Linked DNA regions of Homo sapiens: regions 1, 2 and 3 are each linked to region 4. Evidence: promoter capture Hi-C in 16 types of primary human blood cells and fetal thymus (Javierre and others, 2016). All regions are on one chromosome and are shown on one strand. The core of a region is centred on a gene start or on the middle of the fragment in contact, and the rest is flanking DNA. Distances in the headings are between cores, read along the strand shown.

Region 1 (3,126 bases), core at 220-2,719, 190 kb after region 4:
CTCCTCTATACTTCATTTCAATAGCAAGCATGATGCTTAGCATGTCTTCATACATCATACATTGTCAGGCCCTTTGCCAACAGCTTTCCACAGATAAGCACATTTGATCCCCAAAACTCTATTTCAAAAATATATAACATACATATATGAATATATTATCATTTTACAGATGGAGCAACTGAGGCACAGAGAAGTTAAGTCACTTTGCCCAAGACTGTACACCAAGCTGAGATTTTCAAGGCCAGGCAGTCTGGCTTCAGAGCTCTTGCTTGCTCTTAACAATGCAAGAAAGCTGGGCATGGTGGCTCACATCTGTAATCCCAGCACTTCGGGAGACTGAGGTGGGCAGATCGCTTGAGCCCAGGAGTTTGAGACCAGCCTGGGCAACAAGGTGAAAGTTGGGCCTAAGGGCCCTTTAATACCAACATCTCTGGATGAATAAGGGGATCCTATCTGCCTTCTTACCCATTCCTAGTTCTTTTTACAGCACGACCTAGGCCTTTGAGAACTTACACTTCATGAACAAGGTAACAGGCTAGTTACCTAGGGTTAACTCACTTTCATAACCTGAGAAGAGACTGTCAGAAGCCAAGGGAGCACAACTTCTCTTATAAGAATCAACCATTATTTCCAGAAACTCCTGAAATACGTACACAAAACATGTACACCACTGCATTAGCAAAGAATGAGCTTTTTGTATGAATGGTGCTGGGGAAGGGAGGGAGAGGAGAGGAGAAGCCAGGCAGGGCCTCCTGGAAGATAAGTACAGTATGGGGAGCTCCGGTAAACTCTGGAATAGAGAGGAAGCTAGCATTCTTCCTCCCACTCCTAAATGTCTTGACACCCCTTCCCCCCGAAAAGTTTATTCTCTGCTTCCTTTCCCTTCTTTACACTTGTTTTCTCTCACTTAGGCATGTAATTAACTCCTGTAGATTCAATCATCACCTCTCTGTGGACAACTGAGACATTTTTTTGAGTCATCTTTGACTTCTTCCATTTCCCAAAGACCCAGTCATTAGGTCTTGATATTTCTTTTTTCTTAATGTCAGCTACACATGCCTTGCTTATCTTTCCCCAAACCTAAGTGGCTCTAGAACCAGACTGCCGGGTTGGAAATATAAGCCTGCCACTTACTACCTGTGTAATTTTGGGCAAGTGATTTCACCTTGCCATGCCTGTTTTGTCATCTGTAATGTGGGTGTAATAATAGTACCTACTGAGAAGGAAGACAGAAAATAATAATAGTGCCTACTCTCATAGAGTTGTGAGGCATAAATGACTTGGCTATTATCATTATTCTAGATTCCTCTCTTTCTCTAATCCCATCATCAAGTCCTGTTTTCTGTACACCCAAAATATATCTGCTTCTCTACATCTTCACTACCACCACCACCACCACATTCATGTCACCATTTCTCATCTGGACAAATGGATTGTCTCCTAACTTTCCTTCCTGATTCTGTCCTGACCCTCTGTTTTCCTCCCAGAAACCAAAGTGAGCTTTCTAAAAAAATTAATCAGATCATGTCGCTGTCTTGCTTTTAAAAACTCCCTTCTAATAGTTTCCCAATCCCCTTAAATGAAAATAGAAACTCCTTACTGTGGCCCTTAGGCTGCAAGTAATCTGGCTTCTGTCAGCCTTTCCAACCCTCACCCCTCTCCCTCACTTAGGCTTTAGCCACACTGGTCCTTGCGATTCCCTGAACATATGGCAGGGCTTTTGCACCTGCTGACCTCTCTGCCTGAAATGCTCTTCCCCGGACCGTCACAAGGTTGGTTCCTTCTCATCAATCAGATCTGGGCTCACCTGTGCCCCATTCTGCCTCATCTGCCCAGTAGGAAGGAGTCTATGATATCATCATCAAGAGATGTTTCTTCAAAGGCTGCAGCTCTTCCAAAAACACCTAGACTGTAAGATCCATGAGAGAAGGGAAGACTGTAGCTATATTATTCATTGCTACATCTCCAATTCCTAGCATAGCACCTGGTACATAGCAGGCCCTCAATAAATATCTGTGATAAATTTCCCCACCTTGCAGAGGTCCTTTTTCTGCATGTAACAATGCTTAGATTAGAATGTTCCACTCCCAGATCTTCCCACAACTGGTGCCTTCTCATCTTTCTGGTTATCAGGCTCAACTGTCACCTCCCAAAAGAGGCCTCTTCTGATCCCCCTGTCTACTACAGTGGCCACTCCCACCCTCTCTTTCACACTGTTTTATTTCCTTCACAGCATGAATCACACTCTGATTTTTTTGTTTCCTCCCCCCATCAGAATATAAATTCCATGAATTTCAGGACCTTGAATGTTTTATTCACTGCTCTGTCTCCAGTACCTAGAATAGTGCCTCCATGCATTAATGAATGAGTGCAGGCTGGAGATATTTGAGACTTGCATACTCCATACACTGCTGTTCTGTAACTTGCCCTGAACCCGCTTCTATTCAACAAGTTTACACTAAAACAAACAAAACAAAACTCCACTCACAGCAATCCTACTTAACTCTCTTCCAAAGTTCTGTGTCTTGGAAACCTTAAACTGTGGTGAGGGTATTGCCATTACTCCTGGATTCTGCTCCCCTGAGGCCACCATCAAGCCAGGCTGATCACCTCATATCACCCGTGATATCCCAAAGCAAAGTGTGGTTGAGTCAGACCAGCCACAAGCTCTCTCTAGACCCAAACAATCACAGAGCAGAGAATGACTGCGGCTGGGGGACAGTGGGGAGGGAGATTGCCATCACTGCTCAGAAAGTTCATCGGATGGAATCACAGGCCTATTTGGCTCAGCAAGCCAGAGACTGAGTTGCAGGGTACAGAACCCAAAATATGTTTCTAAGGATCTTCTGGCATAATCTCACATCTATTCAAGGAAGAAACTATTTTCAAACTGGGACTCTCAAGAAAGAGTTCTCTTTCCACTAAGGCTTTCCAAGGAGGTAGGGTTAAAACCTGGGGCTGCTGAGGACCATATTTGTCATCCAAAGCAGAAGCTTGTTGAGGATGAAGCTAACTCAGTGGAGAAATGGGAGGAGATGACTGAGAAAATTATTTGAACACCTGGATGCAGCTAGGTCTGAAGCCAACCTAGCTCTGGACTTTCCAGTAACAAAAGCCAATTAATCC
Region 2 (2,917 bases), core at 307-2,806, 220 kb after region 4:
AAGAAAAATTAGCCGGGCGTGGTGGCGCACACCTGTAATCCCAGCTACTAGGGAGGCTGAGGCAGGAGAATTGCTTGAACCTGGGAGGTGGAGGTTGCAGTGAGCCGAGATCGTGCCACTCTACTCCAGCCTGGGTGACAGAGTGAGACTTTGTCTAAAAAAAAAAAAAAATTAGGAAAGGGGTTTAGAGGAGGACCTCTGTACAGTGGGATCCAAAACGAGAAGGGTTTGAGACCCCAGGAATCTGGGGCACTGCATGAAACAACACAGATTTTTAGGGGAGAAGTTGCTGGGTTTAGGGACCCTGTGAATATCTCAGAAAGAGAAGGAGAGTGGCCTGAGATACTCAGTGGGGTTTGAGGGAAGGGGTGGGGTTCAGCTATGGGACAGGGGATGGGCAAAGGGGTCTGAACTAGGAAGGAGCAAGGCATTCTGGGCTCTATGGAAGTCACAGGGAGGGGGGACTTTCAGGGTCCAAGAGAAAGAACTGGAGCAAGAAGGAGGCAGGGTCCTCAAGGGGGCAGGACTAGTAGGGGGTGGGAAAAAATTGGGGCTAATTGGGGAGTTTTGGAAACCAAAGGATGTCTTGGAGGAGAAGGAGAGAGAAAGGTGTAAGGTCAAAGGGGTGGAAGATGGTTTGGGGTCTAATGGGGTTCATGGGGAAAGTTTAAGGGTCTTCCATAGGGATAAGAGACATTTTAGGGCCCCCTAGAAGTTAGGCATGGTTTGGAGTTCATACTGGGGGTAAGGGAATGGGTTAGGGTCCTTGAGGGTAGAAGGACATGGCTGGGGGTCCCCAAGAAGGAGTGGAATATGATTTGTGGTTCTGGTGGCTGTAGAATGTGGTTTGGGTCCCCAAAGGGAGTCAGGCACCATCTGGGATTTGGCTGACATATGGTCTGAAGTCTCCCCCGATGTTAGGGTATGATTTGGGGTCCGTGAGGGAAGGGGTGTGGTCTGGGGGTCTATCTGAATGTTGGGATATGATTTAGGGTTGCTGGTGGGGTGGTCTGGATCCCCTTGGATGCTGGGATATGATCTGGGATTCTTCTGGGTTTGGGGGCATGGTCTGGGGTTCCTGACAGTGTGTGGGTCATAGTCTGAGGTCAAGCAGGAGAGCAGGGCATGATTTGTGGTCCTGGGTGGCCCTAGAACATCGCCTGGGTTCTCAAAAGAGGTGAGGCCTGATCCGAGGTCCCCCTGGGTATTAGGACGTGATGGGAGGTCTCTGTAGGGAGATCCGGGGTCCCTAGGCCAGTTGGGGCGTGGTCTGGGGGGGTCTCCGGGGAGGCCGGCGGGGCTGGGGGTGGGGCTGGGGAAGGGTCGGGGGCGGGCCCGCGGCGGCTCGGCAGTGGAGAGGGGTCTGCGGCGGGTTCGGGGCGGGGATCCCGGGTGTGCGACCGCCCCGCCCGGCCGCCCCCACCAGTCGGCGCCCCCTCCCCCCTTGCGGCGGCGGTGGCGGCGGGCGGCGCGGAGGGCGGAGCTCGGCTGCGGCTCGGGAGGGAGGGCGGGAGGCGGGAGGGAGGCGGCCCCGCGGCACCGCGCCCCCTCCCCCGGCCCTCCCCCCACCATGGCGCGGAGCGAGGCAGCGGCGGCGGGGCCGGGCCCGGGGCCCCCCCGGGCTGGGTGAGCGCGGCCTGCAGCGGCCCGGGAGCGGCGGGCGGGGGCGCGGGTGTGTGCGCGGGTGTGAGCGTGCGAGCGTGCGAGTGTGTGTCCGTGGCGCTGCGGCGGGCCCGGCGTGCGCCCGCGCGGCCCTATGTGTGCCCGGTGCCGGCGTGTGCGGCGCCCTGCCCGTGTGGCCATCGGGTGTGCGCGGGGTGTCGAGCCCGGCCGGCGTGTCCGGCTGTGCACGCGTGTCCCCCCGAGCGGCCGCCCCTCCGGCTGTGTGTCTGGGCGCTGTCGCGCGCCCATCGGAGGGGCTGTGTGCAGGTGTGTGTGTGCGTGGGTTGTGTGCCCAGGTGTGGGTCCCCCCCAAGCCCATGTGCGTGCGCGACTAGCTGCTCTGGGTGTTTGTGTCCGGGTTGGATGTCCATCCCCGGGTCTGTGGAGCCGGGTGTGCCCGCTCGGGTGTCCATTTGTGTGTGTGTGTGTGTGTGTGTGTGTGTGTGTGTGTCTGCGGGTTGTATGTCTCCGAGGGTGTGTATCTGTGAGTCCACGGCAGGTTGCTGGCTTGGGGGCTGAGGCTCGGCGCCCAGGCCTCGGTGTGGATTTGGGGGAGGGGAGTTCGCCGCTCCCTCGGTCCATGTCAACTGGGGGGTCCTTAGCGGTCCTGGGGGAAGCGGCCATGTCTTCCCCTTCCCGGTGGTTGCGGGGGGGGGATGGGCGGCCAGGAGGTGGACAGATGGAGGGGGGATGAGAGGCCGAGAAATGGACAGATGGGCCCTGAGGTGGGGGTTGGGGGGCGAAGACCCGGCCCTTCCCCACCCACTCCACCCTAATTCCCCCACCGGCCAGACATCTGCAGACGGAGCCAGAGTTACCTCCATCCTGATGGCCAGGCTGGGGAACCTTTGGGGCTGCTGGTGGGAGGATCTCCTTGAAACGGTGATCTAGGACTCAAACCCCCAAATCCTCTTGAGTTTCCACCTGCTGAACTCTGACCTCTGGCCTGGCTTTTGCCCTGGTTTTTTGGGGGTGTGGAGGGCAGGATGCTGAATGTGCTGCAGGGATGTTAGGATTTCTTGGGCCTGGGAAGTAAGTAGGTGGGGTGGTGGGGGGGTGCCTCAGGGCTGGGAGGAATGTGTGTCCAAGACTGTGTGAGTGTGAATCTGGGCCTGTCTACTGACTGTGCTACTGTGGTTCAGTATTTTCTATGCATTTGGAAGTGTGTAAATCACAGGACTGTTGTGTGAGCATGTGTCTGTTATGAGTGAACATCTTGGCGTGTCTGCAAAGGTGGATCTTTTTGTGCCTGTGT
Region 3 (2,900 bases), core at 120-2,619, 140 kb before region 4:
CACCTTGCTGGCAGCACAGCCCCAGTACCTGCACACATGAAGAGTGTGGGCCAGGGAAGTCATTGGAGGTAATCTAAATATTGTTTGATTTTCATTTCTCTGTTTGGTGTTGGGGTTTGGGGTCTTTTTGATACAGGATCTTACTCTGTTGCCCAGCCTGGATTGCAGTGGCATGGTCACAGCTCACTGTGGCCTCAAACTCCTGGACTCAAGTGATCCGCCTGCCAAAACCTCCTGAGTAGTTGTGAATGAAGGTGCACACCAACATGCTTGGATAATCTTTAAATTCTGGGTACAGACAGGGTCTCACTACGTTGCCCAGGCTGGTCTGAAACTCCTCACCTTAAGCGATCCTTCCACCTTGGCCTCCCAAACCACTGGGATCACAGGCATGAGCCACAAACCCTGGCAAGTTATTGATTAATATGCACTGTAAGCTCTGTATGAACTAAGAATAAACTGATTCCTTCTCTATTTTGGGCGACTCAGTCTCCGAACCCACATCCCCCAAAGGCCTTCCCTAGTGAGCCAGGATCTGCTCACCCTCTTCTCCCACAATGGGATGGACAGGCTGGGAGACAGAGAGACCTGAGGCTGGAGGCAGGAGCAGATGGCCTTTCTGGACAGACCCCACCTGAGGAACCATCGGCCCCATAGTCTGTGTTCCTTTTCCCCACTCTGCTTGGGAGGAGGCACCTGAGGATTCACGCATTCTGCTCAGAGATGACTCCTCCATAACTCATGGCTCACAACAGGCGCACCAGTTCTGCCACCCACACTGTTCACACATGGGACACACACTGACACATGGGAAGTGCCCAGCTGCTTCATCAGAGGCGCTGCTGTGTTGGGAGGAAACTTTACATGCACAGAAGGCCCCTTGCATGCTCCCAGTTCAACACCCAGTCACATCCCAGCACACACTCACCCATAGTCTCACAGAGCCATGCCACTCACTGAGTCTCACACACCTGCTCACTGTGCATATAAAGATGCTCACACACTGGTCCAGCTGTGCTCACACACACACTCACATCACAGTCAAGAAGACAAAACGCAGTTACACCCTTACACTCAGGCACACACCCGCCCACCCTGGTGGGCTGTTCACCTCCCACCTAAAGTCACATCATCTCAGCAGAGGTTACTCTCATCAGACACCACCATGCACTCACAGACGGTTACACTGGTTCAGAGTCCACACCCCACACTCCACCAGCATCTCAGATATCATAGCCGCACGGTTTCTCTTTCACACACCCACAACTCTCAGTAAAGTGTTCACAAGAGAAACTCTCATACTTTCGTCTTGTGAAATCACCCCTGATTCTTTCTTGGTTTATGTGAATTGAGTTTATTAAAGGCTGTGTCTTTTGACTTACTTTTAGTGATGACATTGTTGTCTCCCTCTGTGTAGTTCTTCAGAATAGTATCTGGTCTTCTGTGTGAGTCTCTGATTTGCAGCACTTAAATAGTCCCTCTTGGCCCTGCCCTCTGGCTTTATTTCTTTCTCTGAACCCCTGCCAGGAAGATTTCTCAGCAGCGTGAGTAGGGGTGGCAGAAATAGACTCAGTTTCAGTTTTCAGGCCTGTGACTGTGCTGCAGCAGAAACGACACGGAGGGTCACACCAAGGGGCAGGGAATCGCCAGGGAAGGCACAGATGAGGATGATGGAGTGAGGGTGGGAAGTTGTGCACTTCAGCCTCCATGCTTCTCATGAAGCCATGTCATTGTGTGCCCTGGTCAAAGGGTTTGCCTTGCATCCATCTCTGACCAAGATTGACACTCTGCAAAGTACTGACTGCCTTGTCCACTATTTGAGCCCACAGCTCCTCCTCTATGACATGACTTTTCCCATTCTAAGTCAGAAAGGAGGATGGTAGAAGGGCATGGTCATCTATGAGCACTCTTTAAATCAACAAATTAGCCTTTGCTAAGTCTGGGTCTCAACATTTCCAGAAATGGGATGGTTCATCCCCCATTCCTGAACTGAGGGCAGAGAGCATATGAATTTCCCTCTTCTTTTTCCTGGTCGAGCGGAGGCACCTGTGCACTTTGGAGTCCAAATAGGGGAAGGGAGCCCCCATGAGGTCCCTACTCTGTTTCAGTGTAGAGAGCGCAGTTCCCACTCAGCCCTGCTCAGCTCAGACACAGCCCCTTCCACGCTGCTACTCACTCAGTTATTCACGCCCGAAATCCCGTCTCAGTCCAGAAATCTCTATGCTGTCCACTATCCTCCTCTTTTCCTCACACACTTTCTCACACCTATAGAAAGTTCTCCTAGTCTCTATAGGTTTCTACTTTCCTAAAGCAACCAGGGACACAGAGATTCTTATTTCCTGCCAGTTCACCTAGGGCAGGCAAGACACTCTGTATCTACTCTCAGTGTCTTCATAGCTGTTTCCTCAAGCAGCAAATATTGTTCCTGTGATTTGTGTCTGAAATACTAACTAGAGAGTATGCATCAGACTCAAGCAGTGAATTACAAAATCAGTTTCCTCTCCACGTGGGATTTCCTGGAAATCTATTGATGTCTTCATAAGTAGAAGTGAAAGGGGAATCAAATCCTGTTTTTAAGTCGGTTCCAAGTTCAGCTGGAATTATGTGAAAGTGAAAGCACTGGAAGCACCTGGCACTGCCCAGTTGGCCCCACATCCATCCTCTGCTTATTTGCTCAGTGTCAGGTTGCAGAAGTGGAATGGACACACTCAGCAAATGGCAGAATCCCACATTGGTTGTCTGACCTGTGCAGGGAGGAATGTGATAGTAGGAAAGGGCAATGGAAGCCATTAGAGCTGCTTCCACCTACAAAAATAGGAAAGCAAAAGCAACACCGCATTCTTGGAGGGCCTGCACAGAGTAGTACAGTCATGAGGGACTTTAAGATACAAGGGTGGCGT
Region 4 (2,901 bases), core at 183-2,682:
GTTTGAGCCCAGGACTTTGAGACCAGCCTGGGCAACATAAGGAGACCCTGTCTCTACAAAAAAATTAAAAATTAACTGGGTGTGGTGGTGTACACCTGTAGTCCCAGGTACTCAGGAGACTGAAGTGGGAGGATTATTTGAGCTCGGAAGGTTGAGGCCACGTTGAGCTGTGATTGTGCCACTGCACTCCAGTCTGGGTAACAGAATGAGATGAAAGAAAGAAGGAATGAAGGAAGGAAGGAAGGAAGGGAGTGAGGGAGGGAGGGAGGAAGAGAAAATGTGAATGGATGAATCTCATAAAAATAATGCACAAAAAAACAGATACAAGTGTGTATGTGAGAAAACATTTTAAATGGTCCATTTCTGAGGCATGATAAATCTAAGTACTGGCAGCCAGCCTGCAAATATAACAAACTGCAGGGCTCATCCACCTAGAAGGTCACAATAAGGGAACAGAATGTAGAGGCGGGGTCAGCCCATAAAAGGGAAGAAAGTGGCCGGCGCAGTGGCTCACGCCTGTAATCCCAGCACTTTGGGAGGCCGAGGCAGGCGGATCACGAGGTCAAGAGATCGAGACCATCCTGGCCAACATGGTGAAACCTCGTCTCTACTAAAAATACAAAAATTACGCAGGTGAGTGTGTTTCTCACATAGATAAAGTTCAGAATACAAACCAAACTAAACTACAGCATTAGGAATGCACCCTTAGGTGGTAAAATGAAAAGAAAAACAAGAAAGTGATTACCATAAGTATCAGCATAGTTGTTACTTCTGCGTAGAAAGGAAAGGATAGTGATAAGAAGAAGAGGAAGGGTTCTGGGATGCTGGAAATATTCCACTTCTTGGACTGTGTGGTAGTTAAACGGATGTTCACTTTGTGATAAATCATTCAGCTGTATATTTATGTTTTGTTTACTTTTCTGCATGTTATATTGCACAAATAAGATTCGAAAAACAAATGTCCAAGGTAGTCAATGCAATGTTAAAGATAACACGAAAAGACTGTAATTACAAAGCTTTGGTAGCTAGGACGATCCGTATGGATGAAGACAGGCAAAGGAATGAATGAAAAACAATTTAAAAATCCAGAAAAGACCATGAATCTAAAATATCTTGATATATAATAGAGGTGGCACATAATCACTGGAGAACAAAGAGAAACACCCTAGGACAGAACCTTGAGAACGCCTACAAGAAGCGATCTTGTAAGCGTTCCTCATAAACATCAAACTGGTTGAAATGTCCCCCGCCCTTCGTCGTTGGGATGTTTCAGATGCGTTGGCGCTTCCCGGCCTCGAGGGGGCATCTGGAGAACGGCGGGCGCCGGGAAAGTACGCATGCGCACTGCTCCCAGGGTTTGCGGTAAGAATCTATGCTCTCGCGCCCGGTTACGCACACTGCATTTACAGCGCGCATAGCGCCCACGCACGCGCACTGGGGTGTCCGCCGGGCATCGCTCTGTCCAGTTATTCCAGTTTCTCTGGGAGCAGCCGAGTTGACCCCACGGTCTGAGATGTCCAAGCTGCCCGCAGACAGCAGTGTCCCGCAGACAGGCGCGGCGAATGGTGACAGAGACGTCCCGCAGGCGGAGGTAGGCCGCGGGAGGCGGGAGCCGGCCCCGGCACAGCCTGAGGAGGCCGGGGAAGGCGCGATGGCGGCGGCCAGGGGAGGCCCGGTGCCGGCGGCCAGGGAAGGTCGGATGGCGGCGGCCAGGGCAGCCCCGGCGGCGGCAGCCAGGGGAGCCCCGGTGGCAGCGGCGGCGTTGGCCAGGGCAGCCGCGGCGGGCAGGGAAAGCCCGGCGGCGGCGGCGGCCAGGGAAGCCCGGATGGCGGAGGTCGCCCGCTTGCTGGGGGAGCCAGTGGACGAAGAGGGTCCCGAGGGCAGGCCCAGGTCCAGACACGGGAACGGAGGCCTGGCTGCGTTGCCCTATCTCCGTCTCCGCCACCCACTTAGCGTTTTAGGCATCAATTACCAGCAGTTTCTCCGCCACTATCTGGAAAATTACCCGATTGCTCCCGGCAGAATACAAGAGCTTGAAGAACGCCGCAGGCGATTCGTGGAAGCCTGCAGAGCAAGGGAAGCAGCGTTTGATGCCGAATATCAGCGAAATCCTCACAGGGTGGACCTCGATATTTTAACCTTTACGATAGCTCTGACTGCCTCTGAAGTTATCAACCCTCTGATAGAAGAACTTGGTTGCGATAAGTTTATCAATAGAGAATAGTTATGTGGTGACACTACTTCAAGAGAACCTCTGCATTCCAGTCATACCAATCCTGCAACTTGATTTTCAGAAGTCAAGAGTATATCGCGATAAGACAGTGCACAGGTGGAGGGGAAAAAAAGGGGGAGGGGGAAGCTTATCTTGAAAAAGCATCACAGAAGTAGAAAAAAATGTCGAAAGCATTATAACTGTAACGTTCTTTGAGTTTGTGATTGATCCACATTTTTCCCCCTGCATTATGGAAAATGTCTCTCAGCATTGCTTTATTACAAAGTAAAGGATGGTTTTATAAAATTGAGACTGATGAAACATCAATACTAGAGCCCATGAGGATGAAAGAAATTATCAAATAGTGCTGAACAGAATAAGATGTTAACGCTGAGTTATTAGGACTGGAAGGCTATGAAAAGAACTTGAAATTGTCGGAATATGTGCTCTCTTCATGTCATATTCAATAGAAGTTTCTAGTTTAAGATTGATTTTGTGTTTTCTTAGGCATTTCAAGTGACAAGCAAAGTAAATGTATATATTATGTGATAAATCATGTTTTCAAGAACGTCAAATTTCTGGACTTTTTTCTTTCAATTTTTAATTTTTAAAGTTTTTTTGGTATTAAAAAATCTATTCACAAGCCAAAAAATATATAAAATATACAGCGAAAAGCCTTCCATTCTTGT

The links. The method cuts DNA at HindIII sites, captures the fragments that hold promoters and counts their contacts. A CHiCAGO score of 5 or more calls a contact.
Region 1: a fragment that was not itself captured here is called in contact with the fragment with the promoter of EID2 in region 4 in 2 of 17 cell types (monocytes and naive B cells); the score reaches 6.4 in monocytes.
Region 2: a contact is called between the fragment with the promoter of LRFN1 here and the fragment with the promoter of EID2 in region 4, in 1 of 17 cell types (naive B cells). The highest score is 5.1, in naive B cells.
Region 3: a fragment that was not itself captured here is called in contact with the fragment with the promoter of EID2 in region 4 in 3 of 17 cell types (naive CD4 T cells, activated CD4 T cells and non-activated CD4 T cells); the score reaches 6.5 in naive CD4 T cells.

Annotation. Positions count from the first base shown.
Region 1 is chr19:39,347,071-39,350,196 of GRCh38, reverse strand. All of the region lies in intron 1 of SAMD4B (sterile alpha motif domain containing 4B), which reads right to left. Among named protein-coding and RNA genes, the nearest start is that of SAMD4B, 6.2 kb to the right of the region's middle. The HindIII fragment of the contact is 3,053 bases long and covers 1-2,995 here.
Region 2 is chr19:39,319,502-39,322,418 of GRCh38, reverse strand. It overlaps LRFN1 (leucine rich repeat and fibronectin type III domain containing 1), which reads left to right and starts at 1,556. Exons shown (of 5, transcript NM_020862.2): 1 at 1,556-1,626. RefSeq lists a silencer at 1,708-1,967. The HindIII fragment of the contact is 24,527 bases long and covers 1-2,917 here.
Region 3 is chr19:39,677,917-39,680,816 of GRCh38, reverse strand. It overlaps the pseudogene LGALS17A. Among named protein-coding and RNA genes, the nearest start is that of LGALS16, 23 kb to the right of the region's middle. RefSeq lists an enhancer at 2,594-2,888. The HindIII fragment of the contact is 6,903 bases long and covers 1-2,900 here.
Region 4 is chr19:39,538,692-39,541,592 of GRCh38, reverse strand. It overlaps EID2 (EP300 interacting inhibitor of differentiation 2), which reads left to right and starts at 1,432. Exons shown (of 1, transcript NM_153232.4): 1 at 1,432-2,886. The coding sequence starts at 1,514. The coding sequence ends at 2,224. RefSeq lists an enhancer at 1,177-1,676 and a silencer at 1,648-1,727. The HindIII fragment of the contact is 1,343 bases long and covers 1,019-2,361 here.